2 separate regions of the Homo sapiens genome follow, and region 1 is linked to region 2. The links are contacts of gene promoters, found by promoter capture Hi-C in blood cells and fetal thymus (Javierre and others, 2016). All regions are on one chromosome and are shown on one strand. The core of a region is centred on a gene start or on the middle of the fragment in contact, and the rest is flanking DNA. Distances in the headings are between cores, read along the strand shown.

Region 1 (6,797 bases), core at 1,183-3,682, 240 kb after region 2:
GCTCTGAGCTGACTGCCTGACATGTAGCTGGAGGCGGTCCTAACATCTGGAACCTGGGGGCCCTGCCCAAGGAGCTTGGCCGTCTGTTAAGGAACAGGGATCTGAAGCTAGAATTTGGGGTACTGAGTGGTGGAGGACCACCCAAGGAGTGTGTGTGTGTCAGGGCCAGGCTGGGGAGATCTGGGCCTCCAGGCTACGGGACTGAGCATCCAGTCACGGGTGAGTTTCCAAAGGAAACACAAAGGGAGGTGGTGGCAAACACCACCCCAGACCCCACCTCCTCGCTGGGGGAGCCTGTGGGTTCGTCTGGAGGCCGCTGGGGAGGCGGGCCAGGAGGGGATGGGGAGCATGGGCGATGCGCAGTACCGGATTCGTGTATCTTAGTCCCGGAGGTGGTGGTGGGAGGACTCTCCGTGGTGGTGGTGGCGGCAGCAGTGGTTGTAGTAGTTGTGGCGACGGTGGTGGTGGTGGCGATGGTGGTAGGTGCGACAGTTGGGATGATGGGGACTGTTGTGGCTTCGGTGGTGGCAGCAATGGCAGTAGCATCGGTACTGCTCACAGCGCCCGTCGCACCCACGGTAGTCGGGGGCAATGTGGGAGGAGCTGAGAGGGAAATGTAAAACAGCCGAGTCTGGTTGGTTTGGCTGTGCCCAGCCTGGACACACGGCCCCCGCGTGCAAGGCAGGCAGCCCGGTGAGGAGACGGGGCTTAGTCATCAGGAGCCTCCCCAAGCATAACGGACTGGGTCAGACGGGTCGCAGCAACAGAAGACACAACCATGGGAGAGGAAGAGAATGAAGCCCTGTGTGTGTTTCATTTTCTTCTCATGGTCTGCGTGGCTCGAAACACCCAGCATGCACCCAGCCAAGGATGCGTGAGGATGAGACGGGAAGGGGGCACGGGCTGAATCGCTCAGACCCCAGGGATGGCATGGAGCCCCAGGCCAAACACTGGCCAGATGCCACCCAGACACAGGCCCAAGCAGCACCAGTTGGGTCCAGCCCTGGAGCCCCAGCCTAGAGGTGGGCAGGCGGTGGGGCCCTGTCCAGCAGAGGCCTAGAGTGGCCTGCCATTCCCAACCAATCACTCCAAAATCACCCTTTGTCATGCCTGCATGAGCCCAAACAGCCACCCAAACCCGATGACAGAGAGGGAACAATCTCCACTCTGCGCGGGTGAGCCTTGCACGGCGTTCTGCCTGCCCTCGCCCTCCTCCGGTCTTGGCTCTCCTCGGTCATTCCCCTGCCTCTCCTCCCTCTCTTTCCCTTCTCTGCTCAGTGGTAGCCCTTCCTGCAACCACCCTAATCCAAAGTGACACTTCTTATAACTGCCTTTCTCTCTAGGAACTTTGGGTCCAGGTACCCCAGGTGCTTTCTATTCACATGAGAACATGGGAAGAGGGAGCTAATGGAATAACCCGCACTCAGCAGCACCACCTTCCCAGCCCACAGCAGACAGAGGAGTCCCAGGCAGAGTGAGGCGCATGCTGGGCTTCTTTTCTGCATAAATCTTCATGGGGCACAGAATTGTTCAGATCTGGGCTAACCCTCTCATGACACCCATCTCCCACCCAAAGCTATCCTTGGATGTTGGTCAGCTTGGGAGGGCTAAGCTTATGTATGTGACAACTTTTTCACAGGTCTTCTTTCCTGATATAGAAGGTCATGGAAAGGGCTGCCCTATCCTTACCCGCAGATCTAATATTTGCTAAAGCTGAGAGTATGAGAATGAGGCCAAGCAGAGAGAGACAAAGCCCCCTCTCCTCCTTGCACTGGATCTCCTGTGATCTGACAGCACTCCACTTTCTAGTGTTGACGCTAATGGGGCAGTAGGCAGGGACTTTAAAACACAGGCAGCTAACTCTCACTCCCAAGGAATCCTACCCAGCCTCAAATCTCTCAGGAAAATAATATCCCCGAGAAAGGGGCTAGGGCAGGGAGGGATGCCAGAGAAAGAATTGCCAGAGAGCTTTTTTTAAGGGAGAGTGAAGTGATCCTAAGCCTTCTCAGCCAGAGCCTGCCCAGCAAAAGCCCTTTCATTCCCTTGGGTCTCCAAAATTACAAGTCCCTCTTTGGAGAAGGAGGGAATACTCCTGCTTCCCTGCTAATAAGATCAGAGGTACTACTGTGCCCCGAGGGTGCTGGCCACCGAAGTCACACTGGGCAGCTGACTATGCCCCATACGTTCCAGAGGTTCCTGGGCAGGCTCAAAGCTCACAATGCTATACTCCCCAAACCCCGGTCAACCCACAGACATCAGGGCGGCGTGCGGAGGGGTGAGCGGTGGGGCAACTCTCCCTCTCAGATTCTTTATTTAGGGCTGTGCTCAGTCCAGGATGGCCTCAGGCCTGGAATATAATCTCAGCACTAAAAACACTCAACAAGAGGGAATTCACTTATCCCCACCCACCGACACACATACACACACACACACACACACACACACACACACACACACTGTGCACACATCATACATGGGAAAGCCTGAGAGACCCATGGGGCAAAGGTCAGTTCTCTCCCAGGCCTGCTCCCTGCAGCTCTCATGGCCATAGACACACATGGGCTCTTTCCGCTGCTCTGTGCTGCTGGCACAGACCTGGAGCAATTATTTTGTCTACTTGGGCAGGACTGCTCTGATTTTTTTTATTTTAATTGAGACGGGATCTTGCTCTGTCACCCAGGCTGGAGTGTAGTGGTGTGATCATGGCTTACTGTAGCCTCGACCTCCCAGGCTCAAGCAATCCTCCCACCTCAGCCTCCTGAGTAGCTGGGACTATAGGTCCAGCTACAGGTCCACCATGCTTGGCTAATTTGTGTATTTCTTGTAGAGATGGGGTTTTGTCATGGAACCCAGGCTGGTCTTGAACTCCCAGGCTCAAGCAATTCTCTAGCCTCAGCCTCCCAAAGTGTGCACCTGCCGGAGTTCCTTATCAATAGTATATTTTCTAATAATTTCTGACAAATCAAATGCTTACAAGGTAGCCCTTCTCATGACTATCTAAAAGGCATCATTAGAAAACACTCCCTTTGGAGGAGGTTGCAGTGAGCCGAGATCAAGCCACTGCACTCTAGCCTGGGCGACAGAGCGAGACTCTGCCTCAAGTAAACAAAACAAAACAAAAAAGCAAACACTCCCTTTTAACCTGAATCATCACACCGCGTAGTGCAGGAGCCTGGGCCTCCCTTCCTACAGGTGCAGTGGTGCTACATTTCCCAGGCCCCAGAATCCAAGTCAGTCTTCCCCAAAGCTTTACACTCTCTCATGTGGCCCTCAGACTCGCAGAGACACACACACACTCATACCCCAACAGGGCCATAGCTGGGGGCACACACTTCCCAGGATGTTCCAGTGAGTAGCTGGGGGACAGAGGTGTCAAGAGAGCCCAGGTGACAGCATTTTCCTCACCGGCCCTGCTGGGCAGAGGTAAGGATGAGAGATGGCTCTGAAGATGTTTCTACACTGCATTGTCCCCTCCCCTGATGGCCACTTCTGCCAAGTGTGGCAGAAAGGAAGCATTTTTCTCTGATGATGGCTACCTAGCTGCTTCCTGTCTGGCTCAGGCTTAGTAAGAGGGAGCAAGAGATGAGAGAGAGGAAAGGGGTCACTTTCCGGCAGCCTCCCCGGGGCTCCCACCATTGAAGTTACCATAGAGGATACAACCTCAGCTGGCTAAGGTCACTGCTGGCACATCTCCGACCCACTCATTAGCTGTGTCTATTGTCCCAAGGCAAGACAGGGCCTCCAGAGAGCTAGGGAGGGTGGAGGAAAGAAGAAAAGCCTCCGAGGGAAGGTGCAGAAGAGTCAGGCAGTGAGCTGTCAGGGGGCTAGTACAGGTGGGAACGAGAGGAGGACAAGTGTTCCATGGGGAAAACCTTCCACTGCTCAGGTCTAAGGAGATTCAGATTATTTCATCCCCTGGGGCTGAGGTGGAGGAGAGGATAGAAGAGCAACGAAGCTGAGAAGTAGGGCTTACCAACAGAGCAGCACCAGGCTGGGCAGACACATGACTGGGCTAGGATGTCATTTCCTGCCGCAATAGGAGCTACAGGTTTGGAAGCAATCCTGGCCAGTGCTCAGTGGAGACCATCAGCCTGGCGACCAAGGACAGCGGGCAGAGACTCTCTGTTAGCTAAGGGGGGATCCTGAGTGGGCTTCGGCTGGAAGCACAAGGCCCTTCCTAGATGGCAGCGTCAACCTCACAGGTTTGTGACCTAATGCACACTGGAAGGCACCCTGGCTGCGGCCAAGGGTTTTCCAGGTGGGTTTCAGGGAGCACCATGCATGAGATGGAGAACACTGAGGAGAGATGACATGTGTCATTCATCTTTCTGTCCCAGAACCTGCCACGGAACAGGGCACCTATCAAGAGCCCACCAAACATTTGCAGACCTGAGCTGGGTCAAAGAAGAGAACAGCACTTCCTTACATTCCAAGGTGGAAGGTTTAGTCCAAAAATGTCCACATGGCGTGTTGACTACCCCGGCCAAATCACAGATTGTCAGACAGACGGGCAGCAATCCTAAGAGACTACAGATACAGGTGGATGAGAGGGATTATCTTCACTGGGTGAGAGATGAACAGGGCAGTTTGGGGAAATAGTGCCCAGGTTTGGAGAGGACGAGAGGGAAGACAGCAGTGGGCCGGACGCCAGGCCCACGTCAGAAACATGGAACCCGAGTTTCGTTGCTTGGCACCTGCTCATTGTGCAGAAGGTTCTTACGCATTTAAAGCTGAGAACAGCTGATGTTATCAGCACATCTCATTTCCAAAAAAGTGCAATCTGCCTCCACTGCCATGTCACACGGAAGCTGGAGCCCAGGAAACATTTGATTGAGACCGTGAGCTCATGCTGGATGAGTGTAGATCTTTTCTAAATGGGAAGTAGGAAGTGGGGTGATTGCAAAGATACCTCTCACCCACTCAGTAGAGGGACAGCACAGGCCGGCACAGATGCCCACTGAACAAGACAGACTGCCTGCCACCAGGCCCACCTGCCTTGGGTCCCAGGGTGCCAGAACAGGGGAGGTGGACGGGGAGCTGCTTCCCCATTGAGCTTGCAGCTGATTCGCCTGGTGCCCTCCCTGCGTTTCCTCTTCGTCACGGGAGAGACTTACGTAAACTTCAAGCAGGAAGTCAGGGAGGCCCCCAGTGTGGCAAGGATGGCTCTCACCCTGTTCCCCAGGCCTGGGATCACCTCTCTGCCTCACATCTTCACAGGGGTGTTCAGACCTTGTGGGGAGGCACTGGGGTGGTGGGTGAATGTTGAGGACTGAGGGAGAGAGGGAAGGATGATGGCAGCTCACCATCCACAGATCTGGCCGCAAAACATACACAAACTGAAGGAAGCAGGGTATGCAACAGAAATAGAATCAACCTAGGATGGGGGTGGGGATGAATAAGCAAAGGCGAGGAGGAAATCGAATTGGGCAAGGTGGCATCCCCTTCATAAGCCAACCCTCAGATTCCTGGCCCGGTCCTCAGCCCTCCCTCCACTGCCTGGCATGTAAGGAGGCTCTGCTGAGCACTTGCTTGTAGCCTTTGCTCTGCCAGGGTGAATCCTGTTCTCATTTCCCATCTGATGTAATTCAGGCTCAGAGGAGGGCCTGGAAAGGAACCCTGGGGTCCCCTGCCTCGTTTCTCCAGCCTGGGGACAGGCCAACTGTGATGAAGAGCCCTTTGATGACCCTCAAACCCATGACATGAGGACTGGAGAGGAGTAACTTGATTAGCAGGTCCTAAGCCCAGAGCTGCCCAGCACCTTAGTCCACTGTAGATCTACCTCCCATACCCCGAGAGTGGAGACTGTTCTTAACGATAAAGACTTGGAAAAGCTGGGTTTCTGAAGGGTGAGGAGATAATCAGCCCACGGTGCCTGCTGAGACTCCAGGAACTGGAGCACCTGGCCCTATCCATGGACATGCTTGCTTGTTCTCACTGAGCAGAGCCCGTGGTGGCTGGCAGAGCCGGTGCCGGGCCCCCATGCAGCATGCGAAGCTGGCATGCACAGCATGTTCACCCTTTCAGGAGATGGCAGCCCCACCAGGAGCCAGCTGTCCCTGCTCCTGCTGCAGCGCGCCTTCTAGGGCCACAGCTGGGGACACTGCTCTGAGCTGTCAAGCCCAGGCAAGGACTCAGGTGGTTAACGGGAAGTAATCTACTCAGTGTCAGAATGAAACTGCAGCTCCAGAGAGCAGGTCAGGGCCGGTGTGTGTGTGACCCCTGCTGAGCCATTCTCCTACTCAGCAGGGGGCAAATAGTTTGGGAAGGGGGGAAAGTGGGCTTGCTCTCCTCTGGTCCCATCCTCCACACACATCCCTCTTGACAGTCTGGCTTCCCAACCACTGAAAGGGTGAGTCTGGAGCATGCTTTCAGCCTGAGCCTCTCCCTCCTTGTCCGCCCTGGCTGGGCTGGGCTCCGCCTGCGCTGCCCCATGCCATGCCCATTACCTCCGCGGCTGGTACGGTACCTGCGGTTGGAGTAGCTTCAGAACACAGCGCCCAAGATGGCCAGACAGAGGGAGAAAGGATGGAAAAGGGAAGAGAAAACAGAGCACAAGTGAGACCACAGGACAAGGAAAGCAGGGAAGGTTCCAGCCCAAACCTTATGCAGACGGCGTGGCCAGGTGCTGGCTGCTGGCCTGAGGATGCCAACTGGCATTCAGGGTTCACGGTCAACTCCACCTGAGTCAGGCATGTTCCTACAGAAACCTTTCCACCTGGGCCTTGGAGACCTTTCTAACACACTGTTTCTACCTCGATTCAAGGACTGGACATCTAAAAGGTGGCTGCAGGGACAGT
Region 2 (6,626 bases), core at 1,339-3,838:
AGGTTACTTTACAACTCAGCCTTGAGTTTGTGCAGATGGCTGCGCTTACAGCTGGATACAATAACTGTACTATTATGTATTTGTGTAAAATTTTAGGATTTTCATTTTTCACCTCATTTGAGTATCCCCAGAATCCTTAAAGTAGATGAGGCCCTTACATCACCCATTTTACAGACCAGATAAATTACATCATCACAACTCATCACGAACTAACGGTTTTTCATTTCAAAGGAGATTTGTATCCTGCATTATCCCATTGATTCTCCTAAATAGTAACAAAAGCAACAACGGAAACATCTCCATTTAGAGAAGAGGAAATTAAGGCTACCATGATTCCTTCTCAAGAACTGAATTCTGGGGCAGCCCTCGAGATCTTAAGTTACACAATGCCAGCTTTTCCCACAGGAGTTACCATCCCCTGGGGGCCAGCTTGAGGCAGGGTCACAAGGCTCACCTGAATCTGTGCTGGGGAGAACCAAGATGTCAACTCTGCCATGGACTTGGAACAGGCCAGATCCTGCAGCCTTCAGACCAGGGACCTGCCAGGACACCTCCCCCTTCCCCAGGCCCAAGCTGATGTGAGACCTCCCTCCAGACACTGTGATGGGGCCAGCTGGCTCTGGCATTTGCCCAGCTGCCTCTGCCAAATCGTCACATTCCATAATACGAATTGTCTTTCTAGCGTTCTATTCCAGGTCCCTTCCTCTTCTCCCCCCATTCCTAAACTGGCTTCTCCAACACTGAGGATCCACTCAGGCAGAAAGAGTTTCCCTTCTAAAGACTTCAGCAGAGGTCCTAGAGTTCTGAGGCATTTCCTCTCCCCTATCCCCGGGAGGCTGGTGGAGGTGCTGGGGAGAGCTACGGTGGCCACCGATGTCTGCCATATTGCCTTGGAGCCTAAAATCCTTGGTCAATTTACTTTTAAAATTTATACAACAGCATTTTGCAAAGTGCGTTCCGATTTATACTGTCATTATAATCTGACACTAGCCTAATCTCAGGAGCTAGGAATGTGAGATGTCACAGCATCAGTGTCTATTTTGCAGATGAAGAAACGGAGGCACAGCATAGCTAAGTGGCTCATCCAAGCCACACAGAGAAACCCCCGACTTCTAATTGAATTTACCTTCATGGGCCCATACACTGATTTCAAGACTTAAGATTTAAAGTAGATAGGGTATTTGCATGTGTCCCAGAATAGTATCAGAGGCAGGCGCCAAACAAAAATGCCTGGGTCAAGGGTTGTTAGGTCCCCTGAACTGCTGTTGTGACCTGCCCATCCCATGTTATGGGACAAGACCCTCAACTATAAAGTCTTTACTTCCCACCTCCCTGAGCTGTCCTGCAGCTGAAGGAAACCTAGGGAAAGTGACCAGGAGACCCCAGGACCTTTGTCCCAGCAGACCGAGGAATCTATTAAAGTCTGAGGCAGGCAGGAGGGAAATAACAAAAAGGAAGTCAAAGAACAAGGTGCAGAGAGAGGAGATTACTCCAAATGAAGGGGTTTTTCCTCACTGATAAGGTGCGAGGCGGGAACAGCAAAGTGACGCAAGGGCTGGGCCGCTTCTGCATGTGGGTGTCAGGGAGGAGATGGTTAAGGAGTTTTGACATAACACAGTAAGTGTTTTAAAAAAAAAAAACTCAGCACATACACATAACCAGCTACAAGTTTCAGAAGTGAGGAAAACCATGGTGACTAGCTTAAGGGAACTTAGCCGCCAACGCAGCAGAAAGCACCACCTGCTCTGACTAACAGGTTCCAGCTCCTAAAATGTCACTTGCTTTTCCACATTGACTTTTGCTTTTCCCTGGCTGCCAGAAACCATTTTGGTGGCCAAATGAAGCCATGCATTAGAGAGCTGAGATGCTTCAGAGTTAGAGGTGGCAAACAAACAGGGCTTTCATGATCTGTAAGACCGAAGCAAGAAGTGCCGTCCCCAGAACTGGCCATAAGGTAGTCAGAAAGGAGAGCCTCCCAGGGTGAGGTGCCCCGGGGAAGGAAGTGAGGGGAGTTGGCTGTCCCTCCCCTGGAACTATCTGAAAGGGCAGGAAGAGCCCCATCTCCTTGGGTGGCACTGTCCTTTCAGGAAAAAAGGGAGGACTAGATGGCTTCTGAAAGATCCTTCCTGAGAAGGCTGTGGTTTCTGAACAGTTGGGCTTCATCCGTCTTTCTCCCTGGGTGTGGGTCCCCCAAAGGGGAAGTTTGCTCCAAAATCTGCAAACACAGCTGCATGAATACAAAACTAAAATGCCTTGGGGTACAGTGTCATTGGCACCATCTGGTTAAAAATGACCAAAAGTGGTTTCTAATTTTTACAGGTACGTGTGTTCTCAACAAATCCCAGGAAAGCTTAAAGTCACACTAATCTATAGCTAATTATCCCACCTGGCAGCTGACTGCATAGCCCTTCCTCCTACCTGGGTTTGAAACTCCTTCCGCCCTACCAACAGTTTGGCTGTGAGGGTTCAGTGGGGTGACTGGGTCACCCTGAGCCTTTGCCAGCCTAGGTCGCCAACATTCCTCTATTTATAGGGTCTCTATGGAAACAGGGCCAGCATTAGAGAACTAATCACTGTAAAAACCCACAGAGTTCTACTCTTAGGATCCAAAGTGGATTGAAGAAGTCTCCAATTGCCCTTAAGAAGCTCTGGGTGGGGAGCCTGAGTGGGAGCAGGAGAGGAACCATTACCCCAGGTTTGGCGCTGATGATCACAGTGGTGTACAGTAGGCAGCTGCAACTGTTCAGGCCCACTTGGAGTTTCTACTGGAAACCCAGTGATGAAAGATTTTTGGAATCATTTATTTATTCCCCAGCCTCACAGATGAAATTTTAAAAAAAAAACTCAACTCATGGGCACACGGGCAAAAAATTCCCCCATTCTCAATTTTATTTTGATTCCTCTTTCCTTTATTGCTTAGAGAATTCAGCCTGGAGCCAAAGCAAGTGGGAAAAGGTCACCTCATCCACCATGTCTTTAGGCAGAACTGATTCAGCACACACCAACATAGAAGACTTTTATTAAAGTTCCCAGCATGGCGTGCCCTCTCTCTGCCTCTTTGCATCCTACCCATCCTTCACCACCTCGCCACTCCATAAAGCCCTCTCTGATCACACCAGTCTGCAGCGATCTCGCCCTGCTCTGAACACATAAGCGCTCATTATCTGCACCACTCATTTTGCAATTAATCGTGTACTGCCTTGTGACATCGCTTCTAGTGCTTTGTCTGACTGTTATCCAACTTCTCACCTGCTGACGGATGGAACCCTTGATGACAATATGAGTGACTGGACAGCAGGAGCTACAGCTCCTACATCTCTGTGTCCCTAACATTACCTGGCAGAGGCCTCAACACCAACATGGAAGACAGCTAGGTAAATTATTTGTTCATTTATTTTCTGAGCAGCCACTATCCAAGTCTCTACAAATCCATCTTACAAAGGTGATTTTAATCCTTAGATGACTACCTTTTCCAAAGACATAACCTTTCACAAAGATTTCAAATGCTCCAACAGCCTTTTCTTGTGTCTAACTCAGATTTCTCCTGCTGCAGTTTAAACCCTCTTCTCACTCTATTATCTTAGTAACCGCCAAGATTGAGTTGGCTTGGAAGGAGATGAACACAGACCAAGGAGCCAGAATGTATGTGATGTCTTCACAAATGGCTTAGGGAGGGCTTGGGAGGGGGCTCATGTCCTTACAGCCAGATTTGTTTTCCCTGGTGGACATCACTCAGTTAACCTGGCTGGAATAAGGAAGCCTTTAGTCATTTGGTTTAAAAATAACTGTTCTTTTTTTTTTTTTTTTTTTGAGACAGAGTCCTGCTGTGTCGCCTAGGCTGGAGTGTAATGGCGTGATCTCCGTTCACTGCAACCTTTGCCTGCCGGGTTCAAGCAAATCTCCTGCCTCAGCCTCCCGAGCAGCTAGGACTATACGGGCACACCACCATGCCTGGCTAATTTTTTGTATTTTTAGTAGAGACGGGGTTTCACCATGCTGGCCAGGCTGGTCTCGAACTCCTGACCTCGTGACCCCCCTGCCTCGGCCTCCCAAAGTGCTGGGATTACAGGCGTGAGCCACCGCGCCCAGCCAAATAACTGTTTTTCTAGCACAGTCACAAAACATACCTGTTATCCCCCAACAGCTTTGTTCTAACTTCTTACACGAAGAGAGACTTAAGTGTTTGGCTGACAAAGGTGGACCCTGTCCAGCTATGGCCTCATTCCAAAAATGTAGCATGCTAGTAGTCTATGGGGATTTCAAAGGCAGATGCCATTTCTTAAGGGAGAGATGAAAACAGAAATGAGTTCTGAGTTGGCCTTTAAGACCACCACTGAGAAGCTGCCTGAGCCCTTTTCCCCAGCTCCTGATAACCCCACACTTTGAAAACTTCAGCCCAAAATTTAGGTCCTATCAGATATTTCAACTCCTTGCTGAAGGAGATTCTTGTTAATGGGATTGGCAGTGAAGACATAATTAGATACACAAAAAGAAGCACATTCTGTAAATACTGAGCCTGCCAGACAGTTCCCACTAGAACAACTAGGGCAGCTGGGAATTAATCTAGAACTCAATATGTGGCAGGAGAACAGGGAGTTTCGTTTGCCACATGCTTTCCCATCGGTCACCAGTTCCCCCAGAGCCCACATAGAGGGCTGCTCTGAATATTACCTAGGCTGGAGGGGGTGGGGGGGAGGCAATCCTGGGCCTTCCAACCCTCTGCCTGCTTCATATAAGGTGCAAGCGGGACAAAACAGTTAACTTCAGCATTTGCACTACCCTCCATTGTTCCTGATCATTCTAGTCAAACAGGGCAAAGACCCTACAAAAGCACTTGCTACCTCACTTCCCCCATTTAGAAAGCCCCTCTTCTCTTGTTTGGTAATAAATGTCCCACCCCTTCTTTAAAATCTTGCTCTAGGCCGTGCGCAGTGGCTCACGCTTATAATCCCAGCACTTTGGGAGGCCGAGGAGAGTGGATCACCTGAGGTCAGGAGTTTCAGACCAGCCTGGCAAACATGATGAAACCCCATCTCTACTCAAAATAGAAAATTAGCCCGGTCTGGTGGTGCATGCCTATAGTCCCAGCTACTCGGGAGGTTGAGACAGGAGAACCGCTTGAACCCGGGAGGCAGAAGCTGCAGTGAGCCAAGATTGCGCCACTGCACTCCAGCCTGAGACAGAATGAGATTCCATCTCAAAAAAAAAAATCTTGCTCTAAACCCACCTCTTGCAGAACAACTTTCCTGATTAACCCCCATAAGTTTCTGATTGCACTGCATGATGCTCTAAGTACCCTTTAACTTCTATGTATTTCCATGATGGTTTTCTTAGAAGTATTTCATCCTATTTGACCTGGAGATCAGCTGGAGGTGAGGCCAAATAACTAATTTCCCATTTCCTTTTTGTTTGTTTGTTTTGTTTTTTATTTTTGAGACAGAGTCTCGCTCTGTCGCCCAGGCTGGAGTGCAGTGGCACGATCTCGGCTCACTGCAACCTCCGCCTCCCAGGTTCAAGCAATTCTCCTGCCTCAGCCTCCAGAGTAGCTGGGACTACAGGTGCCCGCCACCATGCCTGGCTAATTTTTCTGTATTTTTGGTAGAGATGGGGTTTCACTGTGTTAGCCAGGATGGTCTTGATCTCCTGACCTCATGATCCACCCATCTCGGCCTCCCAAAGTGCTAGGATTACAGGTGTGAGCCACCACGCCTGGCCTCCCATGTCCTTGTTTTTAGGTATACTTCAATTCTACCTCCTCTGATAAAACTTATCCCAGGCGTCCGGCTCCCACCTGAGATTGCAGGAATCTTCAAGCCTTAACATATCTACTGGGCCTCAAGATGCAGCAGGCCCTCAGAGAGCCATCGCAACCATCACAACACTCCTGGAGAGCCCCAGGGAACGTACATATCTTCATTCCACCTACGTTCTTATGAAGTAGCTTGTCTTCTCCTTCATTTAAAAAATGAAGAAACTCTCCACTCTCACTGCTTCATTTGACTACCCTTTAAAAAAAAAAGGAGAAACTGAGACCTATAAATTTTATCAAAACCCTGAGCCTTGAAAAAATATATATATAAGAAATAAACAAATAGAAAACAAGCAGGTGCTTCTCGGGAATGTCAGTTTTTTTTTTTCCTTGACTTGGGTAGATGAGGTGTCTGCTTTGCTTCTGTTATTTAAACTGCGTACATGTTTTCAGGCACTTTTATAAGCATGTTTCACAATTTAATTCAGCAGCACCTTTCCTGCTGAAGGTGGTATCTGCTGACTGCATGAACCCTTCTCTAGTGGGCTCTCTGCAGGAGTGGTGAAGGAACACACGCCACTCACAGTGGGAGGAAGCTGCCTGTGACCACCAGGAAAGGCGGAGAGCCAGCAGGGAGAACCACACAGGACTCAGTTGTGACTTTCTCTCAGATATCTGGCTTCGAATTATCTTTCCTGCTCTTCACTAAGTAGGCAGGAAGACCAGTGTATGGTGTGACTGGAACATGAACTGGAACCCAAATGAGTCTTGAGTCAAAAGTGCTTCAAACCAGGAGGGGAATGATGGAATTTGGAGCTCCCCCTTTTTCTTCAGGGAAATATATTAATACTGCTCAGAAATCTCCAGGGAAATTACT

What was found. The method cuts DNA at HindIII sites, captures the fragments that hold promoters and counts their contacts. A CHiCAGO score of 5 or more calls a contact.
Region 1: a contact is called between a fragment that was not itself captured here and the fragment with the promoter of TMCC2-AS1 in region 2, in 2 of 17 cell types (endothelial precursors and megakaryocytes). The highest score is 5.6, in endothelial precursors.

The regions. Positions count from the first base shown.
Region 1 is chr1:204,990,976-204,997,772 of GRCh38, reverse strand. NFASC (neurofascin) reads right to left here. Exons shown (of 30, transcript NM_001005388.3): 24 at 6,467-6,481; 25 at 367-603. Among named protein-coding and RNA genes, the nearest start is that of CNTN2, 49 kb to the left of the region's middle. The HindIII fragment of the contact is 1,635 bases long and covers 1,615-3,249 here.
Region 2 is chr1:205,233,253-205,239,878 of GRCh38, reverse strand. TMCC2-AS1 (TMCC2 antisense RNA 1) reads left to right here and starts at 2,588. Exons shown (of 3, transcript NR_183258.1): 1 at 2,588-2,695; 2 at 2,921-3,374; 3 at 5,736-6,102. The region is part of intron 1 of TMCC2 (transmembrane and coiled-coil domain family 2); the gene reads right to left. The HindIII fragment of the contact is 7,142 bases long and covers 2,353-6,626 here.